2 separate regions of the Homo sapiens genome follow, and region 2 is linked to region 1. The links are contacts of gene promoters, found by promoter capture Hi-C in human tissues and cell types (Jung and others, 2019). All regions are on one chromosome and are shown on one strand. Each heading gives the region's core, a stretch centred on a gene start or on the middle of the fragment in contact. The rest is flanking DNA. Distances are from core to core; before and after follow the strand shown.

Region 1 (6,159 bases), core at 1,792-4,291:
CAATTCAGATTTTTAAGTCATAAGTACTTCTTTATGATCACTGTGGAAAACAATGACCCATATATCTAATCTGGGTGTGTTTAATATTAAAGGTTCTCAAAAGGTATGTACCACTCTAATTTTCTAAAAGCTGTTAATCCAGTTAGCCCTTAGCCCTTTGCCTGGTAGTAGGTCACTTTAAAACTGAAATCACACTTATGCTCTCATTCAAATATTGTAACCAAGAATAAGCAGCAAGAATTTGGTATGTCAGGACAAAGTATACAGATGGTCCCCACCTTTCGATGGTTCAACTTATAATTTCTTGACTTTACAATGCTGCAAAAGTGACATGCATTTGGTAGCAACTGTACTGAGTGCCCATATAACCATTCTGTTTTTCACTTTCAGTGAAGTATTCATGAATTACATGAGGTATTTTGATACTTTATTGTAAAAGATGCTGTTAGATGATTTTGCCCAAATTTGGCTAATGTAAGTATTGTGAGCACGTTTAAGGTAGGTTAGGCTAAGCTACAATGTTTGGTAGGTACATTAAATGCATTTTTGACTTACAGTATTTTCGACTTACAATGAGTTTATCAGCACATAACCCCTTCATAAGCTGAGGAGCATCTGTATATACTAAGCTTTTAATTATGTTTCTGAATGTACAAATCTGCAATATATATGGATTTCATACACTAATGTGATCTTTCAAGTCCTTAAGTACAGTATATACAAATATTATAATTAATCACGATCTAAATTGATAGTTTGGATTCTACCTGCATACAAATTATGGCCAGGAAGGGAAGCATGGGTCATGCACAATCAGCTATCAGAGTGGAACTCGGCAGCTCACCACAGCACCCAATTCTTTTACTTTATTTATATGTGGTGCCTTTTCTTCAGATTAAATCCAACTTTCCTCCCCTGGCCTCTTATTGTTACACTGCAGACACCAACCTTATTTCTTCTGGCATAAAATCTTGTGGCTGCCTGAACATAACATTGTAAATGTTATGTATAGCAAAGTATTGGAAAATTCAATGAAAAGGATCACTTAAAAAGTCATGTAATAGAGAAATCTTGCTTTTTAAACTTTAAGCCTAATTACTTAGCTCAGCAGTGACTTGGCAGAGATCCAAAAGATTCTTCAGCTCTTCCCTGCTTCTCTGAGGCAAGTTTCCAGTAACCCCTGCCTTCCCCCATTAATACATATGTATCCAAAGTGCAAAAAGAAGGAATTTGTTAAAAAAAAAAAAAAAATCAGACTCTACTTTCCCATTGCAATGTTAAGTATATACATAAAACATTTCTACCAGCTTTCACTTTTTAGATGGGCTACTTTTTCAGCTGAGTGGTAGGACACCAAAATGGGAAGGAGAAGTCAATGTCATAGAGTATAAATAGCTGTGGCCAAAAACAATATTGCAGAAGAGCCAACAGGAGAAAGGCTCCCCAAAATGCAGCAGGAGTGACTTAATTCCACGTCTTCATAGAGACCTCAGGGAAAACCACTATCAAGAAACAAAAGAAGGGTGGAAGCAACCAGCACTCACATATGGTCTTACAGTGTTTTCTTGGGTTTCTGAAACACATACACATATATTTAAAGTCTCAGATAGTATGGCAATGAAAAGGAAACTGTTCTTTATGTATGTCATATAGAAAACGTTACCCAATAGGAACACGGTCTTTTCTTAGATATGCTGAAAACCACTCATGAATACCTAGGCGGATTTTTAGTTATACTTAACTTACTTGAGATAGAATTTGCAATTACATTACACGGCAAATCTAAATCTAAACCTCACCTTAAACGTTGGAATGTGTTCCTATCATGATTCATTACACACAATCCAAAGGACCAGTAATTTCCCACCACACTAGTTAAAACGTTTTAGATCAGTGGGCTAAATTGCATGGGGCACACAATTCACTTTCTAAATGTTTGCTAGACACTTCAAGATTGTCCTCAAGTGTTCGAAGTCAGTAAGTTTACCAATATTCTGTAGCGGAACACACACACGCACTCGTTAGGCATCAGCAGCATTTACAAAACGCAGGCAATCATAAAGTTATATAAGAAAAGCAGTCTCGCCTCTGAGGAATTAGTTCAGGCATACAAGAATCCAGGAAATCGCATATCCTCCATGCGAGGCTGGGTCACAAGAACTAGGTAAAGAAACAAAGCAAAGTGCACTGGGAAACGAGGGCAGTAACAGCTGAAAAGATGCAGGCAACGCCACCAGCGGCATCTTCAAGCATTCCTTCTGAAGGGGAGTGTTTCTATGTTGTTTCTAATGAGCCACTGCTGACCTGAGTAACGGTACAAGCTGAAACCAACACAACCAGAAACGAAATCCACCATGTGGTAGACGAGACTAGGGGAGCAGCACGAATGGTCCACAGGCTAGGGGTCCAGAAGCTGTCATACCATGGGACTCGCGCACACCCTGGAGCTGCCACCTGCTTTCTATTTCCTCGGGGAGGGCCGGTGACGCGTGAACCCGAGAGGCACCAAAGGCAGGAATCCTGAAATCTGTGATTTCTAAACCCCGAGCTAAAAAAAGGTCCGTAGGGCCCGTCTCCCGCAGCTGGGCGACTCTTCCCCACGCGGCGCGCGGCCCGCGAGGTGGAAGGGTGAGAACTTCTAGGGGGCCAAACGAGGACCAGGAGACAAGTGGGGAGCGGGAAGTGCCTGCCTGGTCCGAATGCAGGGAGTCCGAGGTCGCGGTGCCACCTCCCTGTGAGGGTAGGCTGGGGGCGGGGCCGCGCGGAGCCCAACAGCCAGGGGCCAAGCAGGGTAATCCCCCCGGGGCGAGGGCGGGCACGGGAGAAGAGGGACGCCCCGGCCGCTACCTGCTGCTGGATTTTCCCGTCCTCCGTGACGACCCAGTGCGTGGTGGCGAAGGCCCCTCGTGCCGCCACACTCAGCAAGGCGGAAAGGCTGAGGAGCCAGCCTGGGCCGGAGCAAGGCGGCAGCTCGTACCGGCCACGAACCCCTACTGCCGCCGCCATCTTGCCCCCCCGGCCGGGCCGCTCACACCGGAAGCGGAAGCTAGTCTCCGGCGCCCGCCATCTTGAAGAGGTCGGCCCTGGAGGAGGAGCAGGAGGAGGAGCCGAGAGGGCGTAGCTCGCTGACTACCAAGTTTCCTCCACCTCGGTTTTGGCGGCCAGGAAGCGCGACCTTCGGCTACTCTCCCAGCTTGGCTTCAGGGATGGAGACCGCTTTTTAGTTATTGTTTTTCTGTGGGTGATACGATCTCGGAGCGTGGGAACCGGAGGGAGACAAAAGCAGTGGCTTAGGTGGCGCTTAAGCAGAAGTGAAAGGACTCAATTTTATTGTTTTTTAAATCTTTGTTTTTTCGTTTTATTTCTGGTAGATAGTTGGGGAACAAAAGGTGTGCTTTCGAACCACCTATGGGAAGAGAGGTGTTGCTTTTATTCTTAAAGTCTCACAATAGTGGAAGCTTCAGAATGGAGACGGTTGTTAGTTTAGGGCACCGCTGTCCAGTAGCACTATAATGCGAGCCACGTGTGGAATGTAAAATATAGAGGGAAGTAACCCTACTAGTACATTTTATTTAACTCAAAGTACACAAAATATTAATTCAATGTGGTCTGTACAAATCATTGAGATAGTTTAGTTTTTTTTTTTTTAACTAAGTCTTGGAAATCGGCATGTTACACTGACAGCTTATCTAGTCATATTTCAGGGGCTTAATACCCGCATGTGGCTAACGTACTGGTCAGCACAGGTCTAAGCTAGAGGTCTAGGTCTGGAGACCAGAAACATTGGCATCACCTGGGAGCTTTTTAGACCTGCACATTCTCGGCTCTTCTCCCTCTCCCCCGCAACCTGCTGAATCAGACTACATTTTAACAATAGCCTCAGGTGACTGGTATACATATTAAAGTTTGAGAACCACTTTCTTCTAGTGAACCAACAGGCAGGCAGGCAGGCGTCAAGCTTGGCTGCCAGCTTCTTGCTAGATATGTCATTTTAGGTCTTTCAAGATTGCCCTCTGTGTGTGTTATTTAAGGTTGGTATGCTTTTGGTTTTCTCCTTGGGAAAAGAAGGATGAGAATATTGTTTAACCACTTCTCTACACAAGTGTATGCAGGAGAGCAGTTGCTAAGTGTTTAAACACCACGCTATAGAAATGTAGAAACAACCACAGCATTGGTGTTTTTTTTTTCTTCATTCCAGGAACAGCTTTTCTTAAAGGCCTGAAGACTGAACATTCATTTCATTAAAAATATATGGCTTATTTGCTTTTTGCCTGGTACTCTGATAGTCTCTGGGTATGGAAATGTAACCATTGGGCAGTGTGCAATATAGTGAGATATTATTGGCAGGTTAACAATTAAAATACAGGATAATGGGGGTGTATGAATGCATATGTACAGGAGAGAGCAACCAACCAGGTGAAAAAAAGGTTTGGAGCTCAGGTGCTGGTTCAGGCAGAATAATAAGTGAAAAGGTGAAGTTGGCCGGGCGCGGTGGCTCACGCCTGTAATCCCAGCACTTTGGGAGGCCGAGGTGGATGGATCACTGAGGTCAGGAGTTCAAGACTGGCCTGGCCAAGATGGTGAAACCCCGCCTCTACTAAAAATACAAAAATCAGCCGGGCATGGTGGCGGGCACCTGTAATTCCAGCTACTTGGGAGGCTGAGGCAGAGAATTGCTTGAACACGGGAGGCGGGGATTGCAGTGAGCCGAGATCACACCACTGCACTCCAGCCTAAGTGACAGAGCGAGAATCCGTCTCAAGAAACGAAAAGGTGAAGTCAGTGGCATGTTTTAAGAGTTTCTTGGAGTTTAGACATAGGCAATAGGGAGTGTTTCAGAATTTTAAAATAGAGAAGTGGCAAATGATGGAATCCCTTTTGTCTCAGCATCTTATTTTTGGGGCATAGAGGTCAACCCTATTTCTTGTGTATAAAGCTGACATCATCATCATCTAACATTTCTTGAGTGTTTAATACGTACTGGGTCCTGTACATGCATAGTTCCTATTAATCGTCACAACTTACCAAGCTCTGGCTAGTTAAGTAAGTTGGCCAAGATCATATTGCTAAGTGGTAGAGCTCAGGTTTGGACTCAGATCCACCTGACTCTAGATCTGAGAGCCTGAGAATGAATGAATGTTAGTGAGGAATTTGAGAAAGGCCCCAGCATCACATATTTTGCTATCAGCAATTTCTTTGACCTTCACAAGTTAACCTCTAAAGGGGTGGAATTATAGCTTCTATAGCTTTATTATACCACCTATTTTCTGTAGATGATAACTCTTATCTTTTGGGATCCTGTATTAGTTTTCTAATGCTGTGTAACAATTGCCACAAACTTAGCTTAACACATTATCTGACAGTTTCCTTGGGGCAAAAGTCTTCTGCTGTGGTGTGACTGAGTTCTCTGCTCAGTGTCACAAGGCTCATATCAAGGCTGCAATCTCATCTGAGGCTTGGGGTTCCTCAGTCAAGCTCATTCTTCAAGTCCTTGGCAGAATTCAATTTATTGCCAATGTAGGACTGAGGGCTCCATTTTCTTACTGGCTGCTGATTGTGGCCATTAACATTGAGGCTACCCACAGTTTTCTGCCATGTGGCTCTCACAATGGCAGTTATTCCTTGAAGGCAAGCAGAATATTTCCACTGCTGAAATCTCTTGAATTCCTCTATCTCTAAGCCTAGACTTAAAGGGCTCATGTGAGTTGATAAGGTCTATCTGAATAATATCCCTTTTTATTCAACTGATTAGTAACTTTAATGCCATCTGCAAAAATTTCGTTTGCCATATAACATTATCTTAGTCCATTTTGTGTTGTTATAACAGAATACCTAAAGCTGGGCAATTCATAAAGAAAAGAGGTTTAATTGGCTTATGATTCTGGTGGCTGAAAAGTCCAAGATTGGGCAGCCGCATCTGGTAAGGGCCTCACGCTGCTTCCACTTAGGGAGGAAAGCAGAAGGGGAGTGGGTGTGCATAGAGATCACATGTTGAGAGAAGCAGCAAGAGAGACAAATCAAGAAAGCCAAACTCTTTTAACAACCCACACTCGAGAACTAATTCATTCCTGAGAGAGCAAGAACTCACCTCCCCCCCCACCACCGTGAGGGCATTAATCTGTTCATGACAGATCCACCCCCATGACCCAGAAACCTTCC
Region 2 (6,159 bases), core at 1,037-3,536, 1.9 Mb after region 1:
TCCACTTAAAACTGTCAAGGAACAAAGAAAATTTTAACACCAACTTTTCTCTAATCCCTGTAAAAATCCTCTAGCTTTTTTACATAATGTAGATATTCAATTATATTTTATCTGTTTTTGATGTTCTAGCTGTTCCTTTACATATCTATTGAGCAAACACATTAGCATGTTGAATATTTGATAATAAGTTACTTAAAGATGAGAGATTTCAATTCCTTGTGTAAGTCCTTTCAATTTATACATTCATGCTTTAGGTAACAAGTCACAGAAACAAAGGCCAAGTAAGCACACAATGGTGCAGGGTGTACATTTTTTCAACCATATGATTGGAATTAAAACCTGTGACCATATATACCTTGACCCCAGTAGATACTCCAAATGGAAGAAGTAAAGAAAATAATCCATATAAGTTGAGACAAATGTTTGAATAACATAGTAAAAAATATGTGTGAAGTGAAAACATTTAGGAAAAAATCAATCTAATAAAGGCATACTCTTTCCTGAAAACAAGCAAATGATTAATAACACAGACAGTGGATGGGTTTGCTAATTTTTTGCTGTTGGAGACATCCACCATGCATAGTGACAGCAGTCTGAATACAGATACATACAAGGAAAAAACTCTACTCTCCCTTCTTCAAAAGGAAAGCCATGTTTATATGTGACTTTTGCTCAGGGTCATTTTCTCTACCAAGGTACCTGGACTACTATTAAGCATTAAACATATTATCAGTCAACCTGTTCTGATTCCAGTGCCCAAGTAAGAGCAGATATAAAAATAGTTTAAAATTTTTCTGAGTGTTCCCCTGGCTGCCAGCACTTTCATGAAATAGGTCTGTTTTGCTCATGAATACCTAACTTCTTCCTGTGTTCATCTGGTTGATGCTATTTCCTGTTTTCCCTTTCTTTATCCTTGACCTGTCATGCCTCACTGCCATGACTCTCCTGGATGTGTTTGTGCTGCTTCAAGTTTGATTTTCATCTCTTCCATCACTATAAGCACTGCTGCATTTTTTTTAAGCTTTTGCTAAATGGAATTCTGTTCTTCCTATCTAATACATATTTTTCTCCAAGACTAATTTGTCCAGCACCATATACATAAATACACATACACACACACACACACAAAATCTATATCTATATCTATATCTATGTATGTCTATGTGGGTGGGGGTGTTTAGTTTTTAAAATAACCCTATTCCTATTCCTGAACCTCAGAACGATGTCATGGATTTAGGTCAAGAACACTTTTGCATAAGTCAGTCAGAATTCTCAATGAATGTTCTTGTGGGTAACAGTACATTCTTTTGCTTCTGTAGTCATTTCGATGGTGTCATTTATTCAAAATTTGTTTATTAAACACCTACTAGACTCACTGTTCTATCACAGTTATGATGTGGAGCACAAAGTTGTAAACAATCCGATTTTTCCCTCAAATGTGTTCCTATATTATTGTTGACATTATATTGACAGAGGAGCAATTAACTTGCTAAACAAGGCAGCACAGGATTCAGAACCAAAAAATAATAAAGTCAGCACGTAAAACTCAGAGAAGAGAGTTATCCCTGAGGAATTTGTGGTTGGGAAAGATTAAAGAAGGAAGGGGAATTTGAGGTTTGTCTTAAATATGTATATTGTGAAGCAGTGATAATGTTTCCGAGGAGAAATTAGAAGAAATTATAACTTTGCATATATCAGTGCTAATAGAGTAAGGAAATACATCAAAAAGTATTTGGTAGGAAGGAATGAAGATATAGGTTGGAGCCCCGTAGAGAGCCTTGTAAAAACCCACAAAATTGACACAATAGCTGTCACACATTTAATTCTATGGTATTTCAGATGATATATTAAAAACTTTATAGTTGCATACAGGGGGCATCATTATTCTCAGGATACAGATGAGGAAACTGAGCCATAGACAACTTGTGATTTGCCCAAGATAAAAACTCATTAAAAGCAGTGTCTACCTGAATGTCTGCCTAGTTGCGTCTGTCTACAAAGCCCTGGTGCCTTTATTCCTCTCAGTTTGTGCATTAGCTTGCCTAACACTTAAAGCCAGAAACAGTTACTTTTTTCTATTACCTTTTAAATATTTCTGTGGTTGCTTGTATGAAAATATTTTCCACCTTTGCTATAACATTTTTTTAAATGTAAACAATTTTCCTGGACTCCTTTTTCTCTTTTACCAATTATTGCCAGAGAGCTTAGAAAACAGAGACACAGAGACTCACCTATTTAGTGTCCTCAGTTTCTCTTCTATTTTCTGGAAGGGGTGCCAGTGCCTTGTACAGATGGTCTGTCGGACAGACAGATGGTCCAAGCATCTCTAGTGTTATGTTCTAGAGGGAAACATGTCTAAGAACTGCCAGCTCAGAATGGAATGGCACTTAACACAACCATGAAGAGTTGACAAAAAGGCCACTCTCTGACCTTCTAGTATTCAGCCTAATTTTTTCTTTTTAGATTTTTAGTTTTCAGAGATGAGAGAGACAGTTTGTCTGCTTTGAGTAGAAGCCAGTTTCTATTTCTCTCAAGCTAGAGGGATGACAGTTTCACAATAATACATTTAGAAATTTGCCAGGTAGTTTCATAGGATGTTTATTTTTCTTGGCTTAGAATCTGGATCCAAGATAAGGGTCCAGGAAAGGCAAAAGGGAGACTATTTGAAGAGAGTCAGCTCTACTTCTGACCACATCTACTTAAAGAAGCGAAAAAGCTTTTTTTTTTTTTTTTTCCATCAAGAGGAAACTAACTGCTCAGACTGAATCTTTGGTCATTACTATCATCCCTGGGTAGGGGTCGGGGGAGGCCAGTAGAGAGTCACTTACCAGGTGCCTGTTTGAATAACACCTTGATCTTCTTCCCTGATGAGAGCAGAGATAGGAGGTTGAGAAACAGAGAAACAGCTAATTTGCTCTCCTGTCTGGGCCTGGGTATGGTTCCAGAAAAACCTGCCTTTCTATCTATTTTACTCACCCCTCACAGTAGTTAGTGATTTTCAGGGCCAGAATATAGGGACATTTTTTTTTGCTCCTTATGTCATCTTTTTTCCTACCCTTCTTACCCAGTGGAAGCCACAGAAGATACAAAATCAAGCTAGTATTAGGCAACACCTCCTATCTTTGACATTTATTCAGATTATTCTCTCGCCTGATGGCCTGCTAGAGTTTCTTGGTTTCTTGCTTCCTTCTTCCTGGGTTTTTACTTCAACTTCATATTTAGCTCCAACTTTTCCAACATCTGCCTAAGCCCCCAGGCCCACTTTCTGTTTTGACGATGTCTTCAAACCTTTTCAAATCTACATCCTTTGCTCTAGCCTCTGTTCTGTACACTTACACGGTTTTAAGTAGCCTAGGGCTTCAAATTAGAGGCAATGCTTCTGCTAGCTCCAGCCTTGCAATATTGGCTACCCTACTCCACAGCTTCCTTGCTAGAAGTGAAGAATAGAGACTACCTTTGCATAATTAACTCAAATCTTCCCAATCTGCAAACTCTGGTTATATATTTGACAACTATCTCATTTCTCTGTCATTAGATGTAAGTATCTTTTAAAAAGTACAATATTCTTATCTGTCAAATCAAGATCATGATAACAACTAGCTTGTATTCAGCACTTACTATGTGTTTAAAAGTTTACATTTATTATAAAAATATTTGATCTTTTCTCCAAAACAACTATGAAGTAGGTATTATACAAATTTTAAAGATGGTTAAATAAATGGCCAAAATTATATAGCAAATGTCAGGACAAATCAAATATCTATATTTAGAAATACTGTGAAATGTTGTCTTCTAAGTCATTTAAAAATATGTATAATACCTTTCTTCACAAGAGAATACATAGGGTTTCTGTGTTTGCATGTATAAGAATAAGATTTAAAGTTTAAAGCTCTATGTAGCTGGGCGCAGTGGCTCATGCCTGTAATCACAGCACTTTGGGAGGCGGAGGCACATGGATCACCTGAGGTCAGGAGTTAGAGACCAGCTTGGCAAACATGGTGAAACCCCATCTCTACCAAAACTACAAAAATTAGCCAGGCATGGTGGCAGGTGCCTGTAATCCCGGCTACTCAGGAGGCTGAGGCAGGAGAACTGCTTGAACCTGGGAGGTGGAGGTTACAGTGAGCAGAGATTATACCATTACACTCCAGCCTGGGCAGCAGAGTGAAACTCCATCTCAAAAAAAAAAAAAAAAAAAGCTCTATGTAAATGTTAATTGTTGCTAAGTTCTATCCTGAAATTATTTATTAATGACACCACATATATTTCTGTAGCCCACTGTAACAAATAGCTGATTAAGGGGTAATCATTTCTCAATTTTAAAGCAGAAATACTGTGGACACTGATGAAGTAAAGCTCCAAAAAAAAAAAAAAAAAAAACAGACGTGTGCAGCAGCCTCGTTTGTGTGTCTGGTGAAATACAGTAGAACCTTACTAAATTACACTAATGAGTTGGAGACCCATTACAAATTATCACATTTGCCCAATTAGTGAAGGGGCAACATAAAGGAAAAAGACTATTAAGCCAAGCTGATATAAAATTGTAAGCAACCCTTAAAGATGTTAAAAACATACCATATAAACAAACACCCACAAATGTACCTCTACAAAGGTGAGGCTGCTAAGATTATTATCAAACACACAAGTATTTGTACAATATATTTGTGTGGATTTTTTTTCTTCTGTTTCTTACAGGATAGAAGAATGAATGGCAGTTCATTGTAACTATTTTATGTTTTAACTGAATCAGGATTTGAGTGAATGTTGGAACATTTTTGTGTCGTAGATTGTGGTGCTATATTTAGTTAAATTGTATTATATACTTTCAGGGTTGTCTTACCATTGTAAGCACATTAATGGGTATTACGACCTTGGAATCTTGTCAGTTACGGTACTTTTACCTACTAAGTTGTTCTTCACATATTCTCAGAAGGTAGGACACTTGCTGATCAAATTATCTCAATGAACTTACTTTGGGGACAAAAATGAAAGGCAAAGTATCCACCAACTTCCATGGGATTCTAAATTCTCACCCTTTAGAACTTAAGATATCATAGTGTTTTTAAATAATTAAGATTGGATTATTTTTCATGGGGTTTTAATAGCTTCAAAATAGAGTTTAGTACAATTTGTAATTGGAAACTGGGAAATTTCTTAGTTACATATTTCATGTATTGATTCTATGCCCGTGATGAGGATGAACATAAATCTTATTTAATTCTTAGTATAAACATATGCAGGTAATATTATTATGTCTAGTTTACAGATGAGGAAAATGAGGCTTAGGAGAGCTTAAGTAACTTGCAAAGATAATACAGCTAATAATTGTTAGAGCTGGGACGTGAGAAGATGCAGTCCTGTTTTAAAGGAGCTTATACTCTACCAGACATATGGTCACATTCATAGCATGCTTTATGCTAAAAATGTGTCTTCCAAGCCCAGATCTTCTGCATAATTAAAACGATGGCCTACTCTGTCTGCTTCCTTTTCTCTATTTCTCCTGATTACTGTGTTTTGATCAGATGTTCAATATGACATCATTTTTGCTTTAGTTTTGTGATTTCAGAACTCCTTTGCTCTTTACTCTGTAAGGACTTTACTTGTTAAACTTAAAACAGATGGTCTTTTGGTGCACATGGTCTAGCAACAATGAACCACAGTCTCCTTGGTAAGGAAAGGGGCCACATGTGGCCTCAATTCTCTGAGATAAATAGAAAAATAAGGCCACAAATTCCACATATCCTGGTATGTGCATTCTTTTGCAATATGACACCCCATGAAAGTGTGGATTCTGTTCCTTTACCCCTAGAATCTGACTTTGTGGCTTACTTTGATGGAATGTGGAAGAAATAACATTACATAACCTACAAGGATAGGCCTTATAAAGCCTTGTAGCTTCCATATTCCTCCATTGGAGAACTGCCCTGGGACCACTGAGAAAGAAAACCCATCCAGCCTAGTGGAAGTCACATATAGGAAAACTGACCCACAACTCTCTCAGTCCCCTTCATTGCATGTCACTAACAGCCAGCACAAGCTGCCAGTGAGGCTAACTTGGGCCTTCCAGCCCAGCCTGTTCTCTAGCTGAATGCAGGTGCATGAGTGAGTAAAGGAAAAACAAGCAGAGCAATCACCCATCCAATGCAGAGGATGGTTAGA

Evidence for each region. Contacts are between HindIII fragments. The study calls those that stand out against the background at their distance.
Region 2: a fragment that was not itself captured here is called in contact with the fragment with the promoter of TTC17 in region 1 in 1 of the 25 tissues and cell types used here (dorsolateral prefrontal cortex).

The regions. Positions count from the first base shown.
Region 1 is chr11:43,355,802-43,361,960 of GRCh38, reverse strand. It overlaps TTC17 (tetratricopeptide repeat domain 17), which reads right to left and starts at 3,041. Exons shown (of 24, transcript NM_018259.6): 1 at 2,848-3,041. The coding sequence starts at 3,006. RefSeq lists a silencer at 2,703-2,782 and an enhancer at 2,913-3,182. The HindIII fragment of the contact is 5,896 bases long and covers 1-3,708 here.
Region 2 is chr11:41,446,344-41,452,502 of GRCh38, reverse strand. The region is part of intron 1 of LRRC4C (leucine rich repeat containing 4C); the gene reads left to right. Among named protein-coding and RNA genes, the nearest start is that of LRRC4C, 10 kb to the left of the region's middle. The HindIII fragment of the contact is 5,960 bases long and covers 1-5,266 here.